2 separate regions of the Homo sapiens genome follow, and region 1 is linked to region 2. The links are contacts of gene promoters, found by promoter capture Hi-C in blood cells and fetal thymus (Javierre and others, 2016). All regions are on one chromosome and are shown on one strand. Each heading gives the region's core, a stretch centred on a gene start or on the middle of the fragment in contact. The rest is flanking DNA. Distances are from core to core; before and after follow the strand shown.

The links. Contacts are between HindIII fragments. The CHiCAGO score rates a contact against its expected background, and 5 or more counts as called.
Region 1: a contact is called between a fragment that was not itself captured here and the fragment with the promoter of DUSP4 in region 2, in 1 of 17 cell types (endothelial precursors). The highest score is 5.2, in endothelial precursors.

What each region holds. Positions count from the first base shown.
Region 1 is chr8:29,606,701-29,614,033 of GRCh38, forward strand. No RefSeq gene overlaps it. Among named protein-coding and RNA genes, the nearest start is that of LINC02948, 48 kb to the left of the region's middle. The HindIII fragment of the contact is 3,908 bases long and covers 872-4,779 here.
Region 2 is chr8:29,345,193-29,351,974 of GRCh38, forward strand. It overlaps DUSP4 (dual specificity phosphatase 4), which reads right to left and starts at 5,492. Exons shown (of 4, transcript NM_001394.7): 1 at 4,654-5,492. The coding sequence starts at 5,086. It overlaps LOC124901924 (a long non-coding RNA gene), which reads left to right and starts at 5,782. Exons shown (of 2, transcript XR_007060876.1): 1 at 5,782-6,342. RefSeq lists silencers at 3,610-3,779, 5,350-5,669, 5,860-5,999 and enhancers at 4,490-4,991, 4,520-4,669, 4,992-5,491, 6,190-6,259, 6,300-6,409. The HindIII fragment of the contact is 21,736 bases long and covers 1-6,782 here.

The DNA of each region.
Region 1 (7,333 bases), core at 1,576-4,075, 260 kb after region 2:
TTCTTACTCATTTGTCCCGAGTCCACTTTTGAGGGATCACGTACCTGTTATTCAGTCTTCCTGGTTTTTAATTGTGATCCCAATTCAGGAGATAGAAATGAAGCAACCCAGCATTCAGTTAAAGGTAATAATATGCATTTTCCTTTAACTGTTTCTTCAATCTCAGTACTCAATGCTAATACTCAGTAAGTAATCTCGTTGCTCACGAAGAGTGCAACCATTGTGATTCAGTTGATTTTAAAGCCTCATGAGATGACCTTGTAACACTGGAAGAGACCTTACTTTTGAAATAGGGTTGACTTTTTCTTAAGAAAGAGAACACGACCCCTGGTTGCCTAGTATTGCCTTCTCCTCTGCTGTAGGATATATAAAAATAAATGTGGTCTGTTTACCCCTCCCCATAGATCAGGAAATACCAAACTCTAAGGTTCTGGGGCAATGGTTAGCCCTGCCTTTGGCTCCATGCCATGTCAGGATATGATTTGAATGGCTCTAATATAGTTTGCTCCTATCAAAGTCATGCCTTCTTTTTGAGTCAATTACTCAGCTAAAGATTGGGATAGAGAGAATTAATGGAAATTGTGGAAATTGAAGTTCAAAAGGCTAGATTCTCATCCATTGTTTGGCCCTCATGCTTGACCTTTTATTCAGATTCTTTATTTTGACAAGTTATTCTTTCTGAACTTGAACTTGTGCTAAGGCTTTAGGACTATTGTTGGCTTACTAGGAAACAATAATTCCAAGCATGCTAGACTCCCTGCCTTCCTTCACACTGTTTACTTTGCCCGGAATGTACTTCCTTCCATGTCTGCATATCCAAATGCCACCCACCCTCTTCGAGGTTCTGTGTAAATATTCCTACCTTCCTGAAAGCTTCCCTGGGTCCCTCCAGCTGCCAGTTGCAAGACAGTGGGTAGTAGCAGAGAGCAAGGATTCTGAAACCAGACCAATGCGATTCACATCCCAGCTCTGCCACCTCCTAGCCATGGGACTTTGGCTATGTTTCTTACTGTATCTGTGCCATAGTTTCCCCATCTGTAAAAAGAGGACAATAATAGTACTTATCTCATAGGTTGTTAGGAGGATTAAGTGAGCTAATATATAGTAAGTGCTTAGAACCATACTGGATACATAATGTTTGTTAAAATAAATCATATTTTCTTTTCTGAACTGTTAGCATTTCAATTATATCTTTTTTTTTTTTTTTTTTTGAGATAGAGTCTTGCTTGGTTGCCCAGGCTAGAGGGCAGTGGTGTGATCTCTGCTCACTGCAAACTCCGCCTCCCGGGTTCAGGTGATTCTCCTGCCTGAGCCTCCCAAGTAGCTGGGTTTACAGGTGCCCACCACCATGCCTAGCTAATTTTTGTATTTTAAGTAGAGATGGGGTTTCACCATGTTGGCCAGGCTGGTCTCAAACTCCTGACCTCATGATCCACTGGCCTTGGCCTCCCAAAGTGCTGGGATTATAGGCATGAGCCACCACACTCGGTCTCAATCCTATCTTTTATAGTGCTTATCAATGTCTGCTTTCTATTACACAAATTATCTTCTCTCCTTTTCTAGCCTGAAAGTTCCTGGAAGGAAACCTGTGTTTGTTTCAGCTCCATATCCTTGTGAATCCTCAAAATTTGAGAAAGGTCTCAGTTAATTTAGAGAGTTTATTTTGCCAAGGTTGAGGATGTGCCCGTGACACAGTCACAGGAAGTCCTGAGGACATGTGCCCAAGGAGATCAGGGCAGAGCTTAGTTTTACACATTTTAGGGAGACATGAGACATCAATCAATATATGTAAGAAGTACACGAGTTTGGTCTGGAAAGACGGGACAACTTGAAGCAAAGGCAGGAAGACTCAAAGCCAGAGTGAGCTTCCAGGTCACAGGTGAGATGCAAACAGTTGCATTCTTCTGAGTTTCTGATTAGCCTTTCCAAGAAAGGCAATCAGATATGCCTCTATCTCAGTGAGCAGAGGGGTGGCTTTGAATAAAACCGGAGGTAGGTTTGCCCTAAGCAGTTCCCAGCTTGGCTTTTCCCTTTAGCTTAGTGATTTGGGGGCCTCAAGATTTATTTTCCTTTCACATCCCTCACAGTACCTCGCACATGGTAGACACTGCATAGATAAATATCTCTTTTTTTTTTTTTTTTTTTGAGATGGAGTCTCACTCTGTCACCCAGGCTGGAGTGCAGTGGCGCGATCTTGGCTCACTGCAACCTCAGCCTCCTGGGTTCAAGAGATTTTCCTCCTCAGCCTCTGGAGTGGCTGGGACTGCAGGCGCATGCCACCAGGCCTGGCCAATTTTTTGTATTTTTAGTAGAGATGGGGTTTCACCATATTAGCCAGGATGGTCTCAATCTCCTGACCTTGTGACCTGCCCGCCTTGGCCTCCCAAAGTGCTGGGATTACAGGCGTGAGCAATAAATATCCACTGAGTGCTTTCCATGGTAATTGTTTTGGCTTGATCCTCTCATTGCAAGTTACCAAATCTATAACTCAAAAGGGCATCATGTGTATTGTCTTCCCTATCCATAAATATTTGTTTATTTCCAATCATTCCTTTGGATAATGTTCTAGAAAATCTTTCAGAGGAAACACATTGGGATGTGCATCCTGCCAAAACTAGTTCATATCATGGGCACAGAAAGCTCGAAATTGAAGTAAGGAAATATGTCAATGTCAGCTTCAATGTCAGCTTCCCAGGATGCCTGCTTCCTAGTGGCATTGCTGCAAGGTTCAGAAACTATTGTCAGTTTCTTCAGGTGTGGCAGGCCAGGTCTCACTAACAACGGTTTCAGTACTGTGTGGTTATGTTAAATATTGAAAGCCAGTGCCCTCATGCAAAGGCTGGGATATAACAAAAGCCCATCAAGAGTTTTGCCTAGGCCTTTCCTGTGCCTTAAAGCATGACAAAATAATGGAGGAACTCTTAACAGGATCCATTTAGGATTAAACAAGTTTTATGGGGGGTCCGAAGAAACTCCCCAGGCCTCCACAAACAAGAAACTCCTCAAAGGTCCGTGGTTTAGCAGGAGACAAGATAAGGGTAATCACCCCAGCGCCTGGACCCATTTAGATTAAGTAAATTTACTGAGGCTCCAGAGGAAGGTCTTCAGGACTCAGACCTTAGTTATAGATTAAAAGAAGTTAATCGCTTATGGTTTTAGAAGAATGCACATTTACACATAGACATATAGCTTAGAAGATATATAACCTCTGGAAATATACCATTCCAGATAACCATTGTAATTTTGCATTGGCCTGGCGATAATTTCCAGGCCTTCTCCCTATAACCAGTTACAGAAACAAAAATAGCAAATCATCAATTTTTAGTGAAAACTAGATTTCCAAAGGAGGTCCTGAAAGGCTCTTGTTGGCAGGTTTGCACATTCTCTTTCCATATGGAAATGTACTTAAGAAGCCAAATCAATGTGAGAAAGCTGCCTAGTGGGTATAGAGTTTAATAAAGAAATTAGGCCTTCAAGCTATCATTGCTTGATATATCCATTCTCCCTAGAGGGAATGCAGTCCAGAAGGGGCAGATGCTCTGCTCTCATCAGCACTGGAGACACCAACACATTCTGATAATTTCTCTCTCCATTTCCAGTATTCCTGGCCAGTTTTTGTTGTTATTGTTGTTGTTTTGTTTTTTGTTTTTGTTTTTGTTGTTTTGAGACAGAATCTCTCTCTGTTGCCCAGGCTGGAGTGCAGTGGCGCAATCTTGGCTCACTGCAAGCTCCGCCTCCCGGGTTCACGCCATTCTGCCTCAGCCTCCCAAGTAGCTGGGACTGCAGGCGCCCCCCACCATGCCCGATTTTTTTTTGTATTTTTAGTAGAGACGGGGTTTCACCGTGTTAGCCAGGATGGTCTCGATCTCCTGACCTCGTGATCTGCCCGCTTCGGCCTCCCAAAGTGCTGGGATTACAGGCGTGAGCCACTGCACCCTGCCAAGTTATTAAAACTTCTATAATGATACTACTTGTCAAAACAGATATGCTTCAGTTTCCAAGATTATAACATCTTTCATTTTGCTGTCTAAACGAAGGTCTTCCTTTTGGAGAGGTATTCTAAATCTTTGACTAATGTTTAGAAAAGGCTCTAGCCTCGTTAGCAACACATTTACATCTGTCTTTGGTGTGTAATTTTTTAGGGAGTGGAAGATAGGAAATACCCAGTTTTTCCTGGATGCCTGTTAGTTTCAAGTTGTGATGGTGACAGATTCTAACCTTCATCCCCATACTCAAGAGACTACCCATTTGAATCTCACAGTTTCAAAAACCGTGAATATAGCTGGCACCTTAGTTTCACTGGAAGGCCAATGCCTTCTATTCAGCTAGTAATTTTCATCTGTTGAATCTGGTTCTAATTTAAAATATCAGTAGGCTCTATAGCTAAAGAAGTCATTTCTATAGTTTTAGAACACACAACTGCAATTTCCCCAGTAAGTTGGAGGAGATACTGTGTGGTTACATAAAAGTGTTTTGTTTTTGTTTGTTTTATTTTAAATATACCTGAACTCCTTGAACAACAGTGAAATTAAGAGAATGTGCTTTCAGTCCAGAGCTTGCTGGTAGGTTACATCCTCCAACTCAGCATGTGCCACACTTTTGTGGTTCCTAAAGGTCCCGGGAACAGAAGGACACAGTCACAGACGTCCCTCTGTTCTCAGCTAATTAAGTAAGTAAGCTCTACCAGCTCTGTTCTCTCCACATCCTCACCCACGCCACGTCATTGTCATTCCTTGAGCCAGAGTCCTATGTTCTCATAGAGAATCGGGCTCAATAGGAAGCTTTTATTTGAAAGGCAAAAAGAAAGCTTATGTTTCAGGAGGTGTTTCAATGAGAAGATTTCAAGAGTGTTAGTGGTTGAACGTAATTTCAGCTGCATTAAATTCTGGAGGCAGGTTTTGCTTTAGGCTTCTGGAAATAAGAGTCATAGATAAGGATGAGAATAAGTGTTAAACACAATTCTGAAATCCCCTTATTTTGCAGAGAAGGAAAATTAGTCCCAGAGAAGTGAGGTACCTTATCCGAGGTCACAGAACTTCTTAGTGACGGAGATAGACCTTGAGTCTCGAGGCCTCCTGTTTTTCCAACTAGATCTCACATAACGGGAATTGCAAATGCTGGATAATTTCATTTGCAATTACTAACTCCTAACAATGTTAGTTAAAATTAACTAACTCCTTGAGCACATTGTAGATTTTTTTCCTGCTTATATACATATGTACACAAGAAAACACCGCAATATGCAATATACAGAAAATGTATGCAATATAATTTTGGTAGAAATTTTGACTTAATCCTACAGAAACTATTTCTTGAGAGATTATTACATACCACTTCCTACATCCAATGTGCCTTGAGCTAAAACTGTGAACAAAACCAACATTGATTTCGCTTCATGGAGCTCACACTAAGTGGAAAATGCAGATCAGCAAAAAGGCAGGAAAGGGGGACTGTGATTAGGAAGGGATCCCTGAGAGGTTGGGTGGGGATAATCATAGAGGGCAGCTTGGAGGAAGAACTGTTGTCTAGAGGAAAACCTGAAGGTGAGAGGATTTAGGGATCACACTTGTTGGCATGCCAGGTTGATTTCCTGTTGGTTTCTGTGTGCTGTTTCCTGGGCTCGGAAAGCCCCCAACACCTTGCTGTATCCACATTCTCATCTCCTCTCCCCGTTGATCTCTTGGTCATCTTTTCCTTCTGGGGGCAAGTGTCACCCCTTCAGAAACTCCCTTTCATCCAGAACAGACAAGAGGTCTTTACTCTGGGTCCCTATCAAGTTTTGTTCATCCTTTATTATAACCATTATCATATGCTAAAAATACATGCTTGCCTCCCTGTCTTCTCCAGTAGCTTTCAAGCTCTTAGAAAACAGGGACTTTGTCCTACTCATGTACTTGTGGACATAGTACCAGGTACAGGGCAGGCATTAAATCAATGTTGATATTTGCTGAATGCAGTGACTGGCATTGGGGTACCCTACAGCTCTCCTCACGCTGTCTCTAAACCACCTTTTCTCCTCCGGATTACATTTGAAGCCCCTCATTTGTAAGAGTCACTATTAGTAAAAACCTTAGGGTTGCCTCATCAAGAGAATGAGAAAGAAAATCTGTCAGAAGAGTAGACAGTCACCACCAGGGTAGGCATGTGGCTGCCTCATGCAGGGCCAGGGCCAGGGCCATGGCTGTGCCTTTCTTCTCTCCCAAGCTAGAGAAGAACGGAGGCTGCGGACTGCCCCCAGCGAATCCCAGTGCCCACATCATCCTGTGGAGAAGCCTTGACTACCCCCAAGCTGAGTCCTGACGGGACAGACGAGTGAGATCCAACTTCCCTTGCACTTCTGGTGATTTATATTGGACTAGAGTCTTCACCAGGGAACCTGTGGACCAAAATCAAAAATTATTTGAAAATTCTGAAGCCAGGCAAACATTTGTGGGTAGCGTGAGAAGAAAAAGATGAACTGTCTGTGCGGAGCAAAGAGAAATGTGCCCTGCTTCCTGATTGGGTGGTCGTGGTGATGGTGGGGCCATCTTTGAAAGAAGAGACTGCTGCTCAGAGCCTTCTGTGTTCTTGATTGCACTGTTCTATTAGCTAAATCATAAGAATTTTTTTAAAGCTTGTTTTTAATACTTAACTGGTACATTAGAACTAGTTTTATTTATCTAGAGATTTTAAAAGGCCCAAAGGCCACAGCCAGCTGCATCGTCCTTGTTGGAATGGATTAGTTTCCCTGTTTATTCATTTCCTACTCACATGTTAAGAGTTGTCCTTTCCATTTGAAAAGTATCTACGTCCACAGTAACTGCCCAGGATTGGCAAACTCCACTGGAGACGCAGCATGTGGAAGAGGAATTAGCTTAACTGGCTGTCCTTGTTAACATTGCCCCAGTTGTCATAAGCTTTTGTCTACCACATATTATCTGTGATATGGAGACAGAAGTCTCACTTCTTTCTGAGCCTGGCTTCTGTCTGTGCTAGGTAACTTTTTGCACTATTCTATTGAGAAGTGAAGCCAGTTGGACTTCCAGGGTCCAGTGGGGACTTGGAGAACTTTTCTGTCTTACAAGAGGATTATAAAATGCACCAATCAGCACTCTGTAGTTAGGATTGTAAAACGCACCAATCAGCACTTTGTGGCTAGCTAGAGGTTTGTAAAATGCGCCAATCAGTGCTCTGTAAAAATGCACCAATCAGCGCTCTGTGTCTAGCTAGAGGTTTGTAAAATGGACCAATCAGCACTCTGTAAAATGTACTAATCAGCAGGACATGGGCGGAGACAAATAACGGAATAAAAGCTGGCCACACCCAGCCAGCAGCGGCTACCCGCTTGGGTCCC
Region 2 (6,782 bases), core at 4,242-6,741:
TCCCAGGCAGGGCTCATGGCCTTGCTCTTGCCAGAAAAGTCATGCTCTTGCAAGAAAGTCTGGGGTTGTTTGAAGGCCATTTGCCTTTGGGAACTCTACTTTATGTGACTGTTGACTTAGTAAGCACCTATGTAAATGCTGAGCTGTATTTAAAATCCAACTAAGTGAACTTCTCACCTTGAGACTCTGAACACAGACACCTGGACCTTCCTGCCAGCTGGCTGACACCTAACGCCATGCTGGGGGCTCGAACTGGTTTGCAGTCTCTCCCAGTCCTCCTGGGCGATCTGCTATGTTCAGCAAACTGGCTTCCGTTGGAGTGAACTTTTCTTCCCATCGTGCTTCCTCTTCGTTAGCCAGGAACTGCCTCCCGGTAAGGAAATCGGCTCTCTGGTTTCAGATGTTCTGATTTTTTTTCAAGGAATTTCTTGGCTCGGGAAAGTGGCCACCCTTTCTCTCTCCCTCATTTTTCTGAGCAGTCCATTTTTGTGGGTGGAGCCCACCTCTCCTATAAGCACCCAGGATAAGCCCAAGGAAGTTGTGACGGTCTAAAGGGTCAAATTTCACTCTCAATTTACACCTACATCTGTCTTTAGTTACTTTTGTTAGTTGGAGACATCCAATGTAAATGGTGTCTAACATAGTGAGTTTGCTTCATTGTAAAAAATCACCTGTAAGACCTAGCAACTTATGCTTCCAGTCCTTGGCTGTCATGGGCATTGTATTACATTTGTAAGCAGAAACTACCATATTTGCAAGCAGAAAAGCGAGTCATTTTCCCTTTAGGTAGAAAAGGTATGCAATATTGACATCCCCCAGAGCTGTGCTGTTTGATGCCATTGCCCTCCTGGGGAACTGAAGACAGAGAGAGCAATGGTGGGGCTAGAGAGAGAAAAAACAGAAAAATGTCACCAGAGTTTCCAGAGCTGTTAATTGTGTTCCTCTCCCCCCACATTCATCAGTGGCCTTAGTGACTGTTTTCTACAGAAAGGGTAATATCATGGGCTGTATGGTCAGGCCCTGGGCTATTGGATGCTATCCGGTACTATAGGGTGAGTGGAAGGAGAAACTGGAATATCTAGATGATCTTCCCCATTTCTCCAACAGCTCCAGGACAGCTTTTAAATTAGAACTGACAAAGGCTGAGGGAAGTTTTAGGTAGGTGGAAAGGAAGGTAATGTTTTTATACCTGCAATCTTTTTGCATAACAGATTATTTTGTTATTTGGGGTTAATAAAGGCAAAGAATAGGGTAAGAAAAAGCTCTTTTTGTCTTTCTCTAATGACCAGGGGAGTCTCAAACTCTAATCCAAGGATTTACGAATGAGAGAGAAAGGGATTTCAAGAAGTGTATTGTGATAAAATCTGAAAAACTAAAATTTCCAAACTGACTCTAAAAATGCCTTACAAGATTTTAAATTAAATGAGTTTTAAAAAAATTACCCCACTGGAAATCCTTTACTAGCAAAGATAGAAAACATTAGATTTTTCGTTATTGCTTTTAGCAAAAGTCGGGTAATCTGAGGAAATGTAAAGGCTAGGCTGTACTTTCTTGATATTAAGCGAAGTTTACCTCCTGCCACCTGCATGGAGTAACCAGTTCAACGTGGTTGAAGTAACCCTTCAACGTGGCAGAAATAGAAAAACTGAATTTTAAAATGCAATTAATAGAATTAGATAGCTTTGGCTGGACATGCTACTATCACTTCTGAAAATACTCTTGTTGCTTTTACTGCTTCTCCTAACCCCTCCAAGAATGGCAGACACCAACCATCAAGCCTTCCACTGGCTTCCTGTCCTGCTTTACAGACACGCACAGGCACACCTGAAATGAGACATACATACATTCCCTCGCTGGAAAATAAAATGAATTACTCCAGTAGGAAACAAATTCTCCAACCCTTCACCAATTCAGGCATTTACTAAAGATAATCTAAGGGGCTTTTTCTTCCTTTGCTTCTCAAAATTCCCCTTTAGGTCTCTGCCCCAGAGCCCCCTCCCGGGAAACCACATTTGCTCCACTGCACTGGCTTCCAGGCATGGAAGGGAGGTGTATCTGGAGACCTGGGAGACACCTTGATTTCCTTCCCCAGCCCCTTCCCGCAGAGCTGTGGGAGCAGATACTGACTTTTTCCTTCTGACCTCTCTAGGGATGCCTTTCCATTAGAGGGCAAAGAGGAAGAAGAGGAACTGGGTTAAAGATGGCCTCTGCTGAACACATATGTCAAAATCAGCTAAGCTAAACCGAATAGGGCCCAGTTAACCTCAACGATGTTCACCACAACAGAGCAGGCTGGAAGATTCCCCCACCTCTCAATTTTAGGTGCTTGCTTCCAAGGGCAGGCTCCCTTTGGAAGCAGAAGCTGAACTTCTGGCTAGGAGGGGCTATTCTAGAAGAGACCGAAGCTAAATCTGTGGCCCAGGCCTGCACACCTCCATCTGCAAGGATGTCCACTTTGAGATGCAGAAGATGATTCTCCCTGCCCGCGTCGGGGCCGACTACGAGAGGCAGTGCAGGCTCCAGGAGGAAACAGCCCTTAAAGTACTTCTCTTATGTTGGCCAGGCACCTCGCCACCCACCAGAGGGCTGTCATTTTACCTAGAGGCCTGTACTACCCAGTCACTAGCCTCGCCCAGAATCTCCAGGGCTCTCGAATCGGTCTGGCTGGGGAAATGGAGGAGGTTGGGGAGGGAGGACTCTCAACGGGATTCACGAGGGACAGGGAAATGCCGCGCGCCCTGGGGATAAATCTTAAAAAATAATCCCTCTCTCCCCGGGAGCGGGGCCTAAGTGGCTGCACCCCCGGAAGCCCAAGGGCCGAGGTCCTGGAGCTGCCGCTCTAGGGCGGTCCCCTCGGGATTTCTTCCAGGAAGGAAAGCAAAACACAACAAAACAAATCCAGACTCCACGTGGGGCTGGAACCCAGTCCCAGCCCTGCTGTGTTCTAGCTGGTCCCGGGTTTGGACGCCAGCGAAGGAAGGCGCGCCCGCGCTCTCCATCGGGGGGACTCGAGGGCAGCGCCGTGCGGGGAACATCCCGGCCAGCCCCGGCCATTCGAGGGGACTTGCGTCCCAGAGGAATTGCCCTCATCTCTCCCACCAGCGCCGACAAGCTCAAACAATGGCGCGGACGCCCACCCTGGTGGCCTAACCAGGACCTGGCCCCGCTCAGCCGCCAGGCCTTCCGGGACAAGCCCCTTCCTGGCACTTTCTCTTGGAGCGCTTTGGGGAGAAGGGAGGGGGACTGGGCTCATTTGGAGGAGCAAAAGACAGCCCTCGCGGAAAAAGAAAGAAAAATCAGCAAAATCGCCTTAGCAGTTCAACCAAAGGTCAACAGCAGCGTTTCCCCAGCAGCTGACAGGTCAAATGGGCAGGAAACAACTGCGGGGAACAAAGCCCCCCGCTGTCCGGCAGGGGCGAACCCGGCTCCTCCGCACTGAACAGTTTTGTTGTGCTTTTTGGAGGGGAGAGGTTTCCGCCCCCTTTCCAGCTCCCTTCCTCCCGGGTGGACAGGTCGGAAGAGGAGCGGAAAGGAAAGGAAGGGAGGGAGGCGGCGAAGGCGCCTGCGGGGGGGAGGAGCGGCTCTTTGATGGGTGTGGGGGGGTCTGAACTGCCTACCGGGCTCGGAAGCGCAGACCCTACCCGCGCGGAAGAATGCGCGGAATGCGGCGGCGGGAGGCGGAGGCGCAGCGCGGCGGGGGGCGCCCGGACCCCACGCGCCCTGCCCGCTCCCTAGCCCGAGGGCCGCGGACCCACCCTGCCCTGCAGGTGTGGCGGGCGCCAGGTCCCTCCAGGGACTCGGACAGCACGCGATTTTTCCAGGATTTCCGACTACCAAATGTGACAAGACAGTCTCGCCGCCGAGAGTTTCGCCAGGGCTCGCTAAAATCCGGCACGCGCCGCCATCAGATAGTCGAAAATCCGGGCTGAACAAAAGGTGATCATTCTCCGCTGCCCGGATTTGCAGGCGCTAGAGGACCGGTTCCGCCCGGCGTCCCCCAGATACCCAGTCCTTCAGCCTCCCGCTCCCAGAGCCTGGATCTAGCCCGGGACGGGGATTGGCCACCTTCCAAGCTGAGCTTGGAGTTGGGCAGCGGGAACGCAGATACAGATCGCTCTACACAGTGTGTGCAACCCAATCTCCCTTTCTGCATTTGCCAGGGTCTTGTTTTCAGTGAAACTGGCAAGGCCAATTGTACCTCGGCGCCCACCCCTCTTCACCTTTTCTCCACCTCTGGGATTCTCCCGGTCCGGCTCAGTGTAGGGCCCCAGCACGCCAAACCAACAGGCCTATCTTGTCCCCACGCGCCCCGTGGTACTTGGAAACTGTTCCCGGGACTCAAGATGGACCGCGCAGAGGAGTCGCTTCATCCTCGAGGCTAGGACCGTTAATGTCAATAAACGGGGCCTCGCTAGGACGGTGCGGAATTGCAGGTGACCGGAGAAACCCGTCCGCACTTTCCCTGAGGACTTGAACCTCGCACTTGCACAGAAACCTTGCAAACCCCTACACACCAACACACACAAAGGGGCGCGCGGGGATCCCCGCAACCACGAATCACGCCGGGGACTCCTTCCCGTGCCAATAAGGCGCAGGCCGCCAAGACCCCCTCCATCTCCCCGACTCCAGCTAGCGCCCGGAGCCCTCGTTTACCTTTGAGCAGGCAGATGTCGGTGCGCTCGGCGTTGCGGCGCAGCGCCTGCACCACCAGCGACACGGTGCTGTCCTCGCGGAGGCTCTCGGCGCGCGGGCTGCGCTCGTCGTAGACGATGACCGCCGAGTAGAGGCCGGAGCGCAAGCGGGCGCGTACCTCCTCCTCGGCGGGCAGGATCTGCTCCAGGCTCACGGAGCCCTTAGCCCGCCGCCGCACGATGGTGTTACAGCGCACGTTGACCGAACCTAGGATGTAGCCCGCGCTGTGCGCCAGGAACGGTCTGCAGTCCAGCAGCAGGCACTTGCCGCCGCTCGGCAGCCCCAGGGTGCCGTGGCTGCCGCTGCCGCCCGCGCCGCCGCCATTCTCGTCCCGGTTCATCAGCCTTTTGAGCACACTGCAGTCCATCTCCCGCAGCTCCTCCATCGTCACCATGGTCGCCGGGAACCGAGGCGGCTGGGCGCGCGAGGAAGAGAAGAGAACCCGGGCCGCCTAGGCTGCAGAAAGGGGCGGGCGAGAGCTAAGAAGGGACGCCTGCAGAAGTGGCCGCAAACTTGGTCCTCAAGGGCTCCCGCGGGAGAGCCTCTTCTTCCCTGTCCCCTTCCTCCCGCAGCCTCGCGGTCACATAGCAGTCGGAGCGGCCTCGGGCGCCCAGCCGGGCGGCGCGCAGAGCGGAGGGGGAGGCGCCGGTGGAGGAGAGTGTGTTTACGAGAGAGGACCGCGGACTCTTTTCGGCGACGGCCTCCCGTGTATTTTTGCCGGTCGCGCGGCTCCTGTCGCCACTGGCGCCAGCGCTGCCCTGCCTACGCTCCTCCGGCGCTCAGCGCACTGCCCCAGCCAGAGTTTTCTCCTCGGCTTAGAGGTTTATTAATGCTCCTCCGCGCTCCCGGGGGAGGGGGCGCTAGGTACTACCCCGCCAGGCCCCGCCCCGTTCCATTCCGGGCCCCGCGCCGTCCCCCGCCCCCCGCGCTGTCCCCCGCCCCCCGCGCTGACTCCCCGCCCCCTCCGGGCCCCTCCTCCCACCCCCTCCCCGGAGCTTGAATGGAGCGCGGCCGCTGGCTCCCGGTCACGGGAACTCGACGTCACAAAGAGCGGAGTAAACAGGGCGCCGGGTGCTCGCCATCAGGCCCATTCATAAAACCGAGGCCGAGAGGAAGAGGGAGGCGGCCTCCGACCCGCCGCCAGCGGCGGGCAGCGCCCGGACTTTGTGAATGGAGCGCGCGGCGCCTTTCGCCGTCTACCCGCGGGCCCAGCCTGCGCCGCGCCTCCAGCCCGACACCGGCACCTGTGCCGCCGCTGCACCCCGCCGCTAGGCGGGCGGCGCCAAAGGAAATAGCCGGCTGAGGAGGCCAGGGCTCGGGTTTGAGCTTTCATCCCTTGGCACCTTCGCGCTTCCCCGCGTGACAGCCCCGTAGGTTTTTCCCGGTTACCCAAGTGGAGAGGGGACCGGAGCGCTGCTGCCCACCCAGCGGGGCCTGACACCTCCTAGCCCCAGACTCCCCGTGCGCTTTCGGCCCGGCCAGTCCTTTCTGAATATGCGATTCCTGAGACGTTAGCGTATGCATTAGCGTGATCGATTTTCATCTAAAGCCATTAAATCAGTTTTATAGCTTCCCCAAGAACGTGGGCAACCCCCTGCTTGGAAGATGAAAGAGAAAGTCCTCCCGCCCGAAGCCCAGGATCGGAGTGAGGTGTGGGGTTTGTTGCTTTACTACCCAAAGGGAGGCATTAATTGCCGGAATGGTGTTCCGAGGGAGGAGAGCAGGCTGCGCTCCTGTCCACGCTTCCTAAAAGATGTTTATTTAACCCTGGTCGGGGGAAAAACAAGGTTTTCGGGTTTGGGAAACGTCTTCACCCTATCTTGCATAGTTGTGAATTATCCTTTCAGGAAATGACAGGGTCCACATTTGTTGCGGAGCTGGACCCTGGAAAATGTACCCGCAAAGAATGACCTTTTGAAAGGACTTCAGCAGCTCTGGGTCCGATTCATGTTTCTGGGCATCCCTTTTTCCTGGTCACGTAGCAGCCCTCCCCATCCCCATTTCTCTTTTGCATTTAATTTCCCAGAGGCGGCTTTTGGCTGGGGGTTTGTGCACGCACGCGGTGGGGACCGTGCAGAAGCCAAAAATCA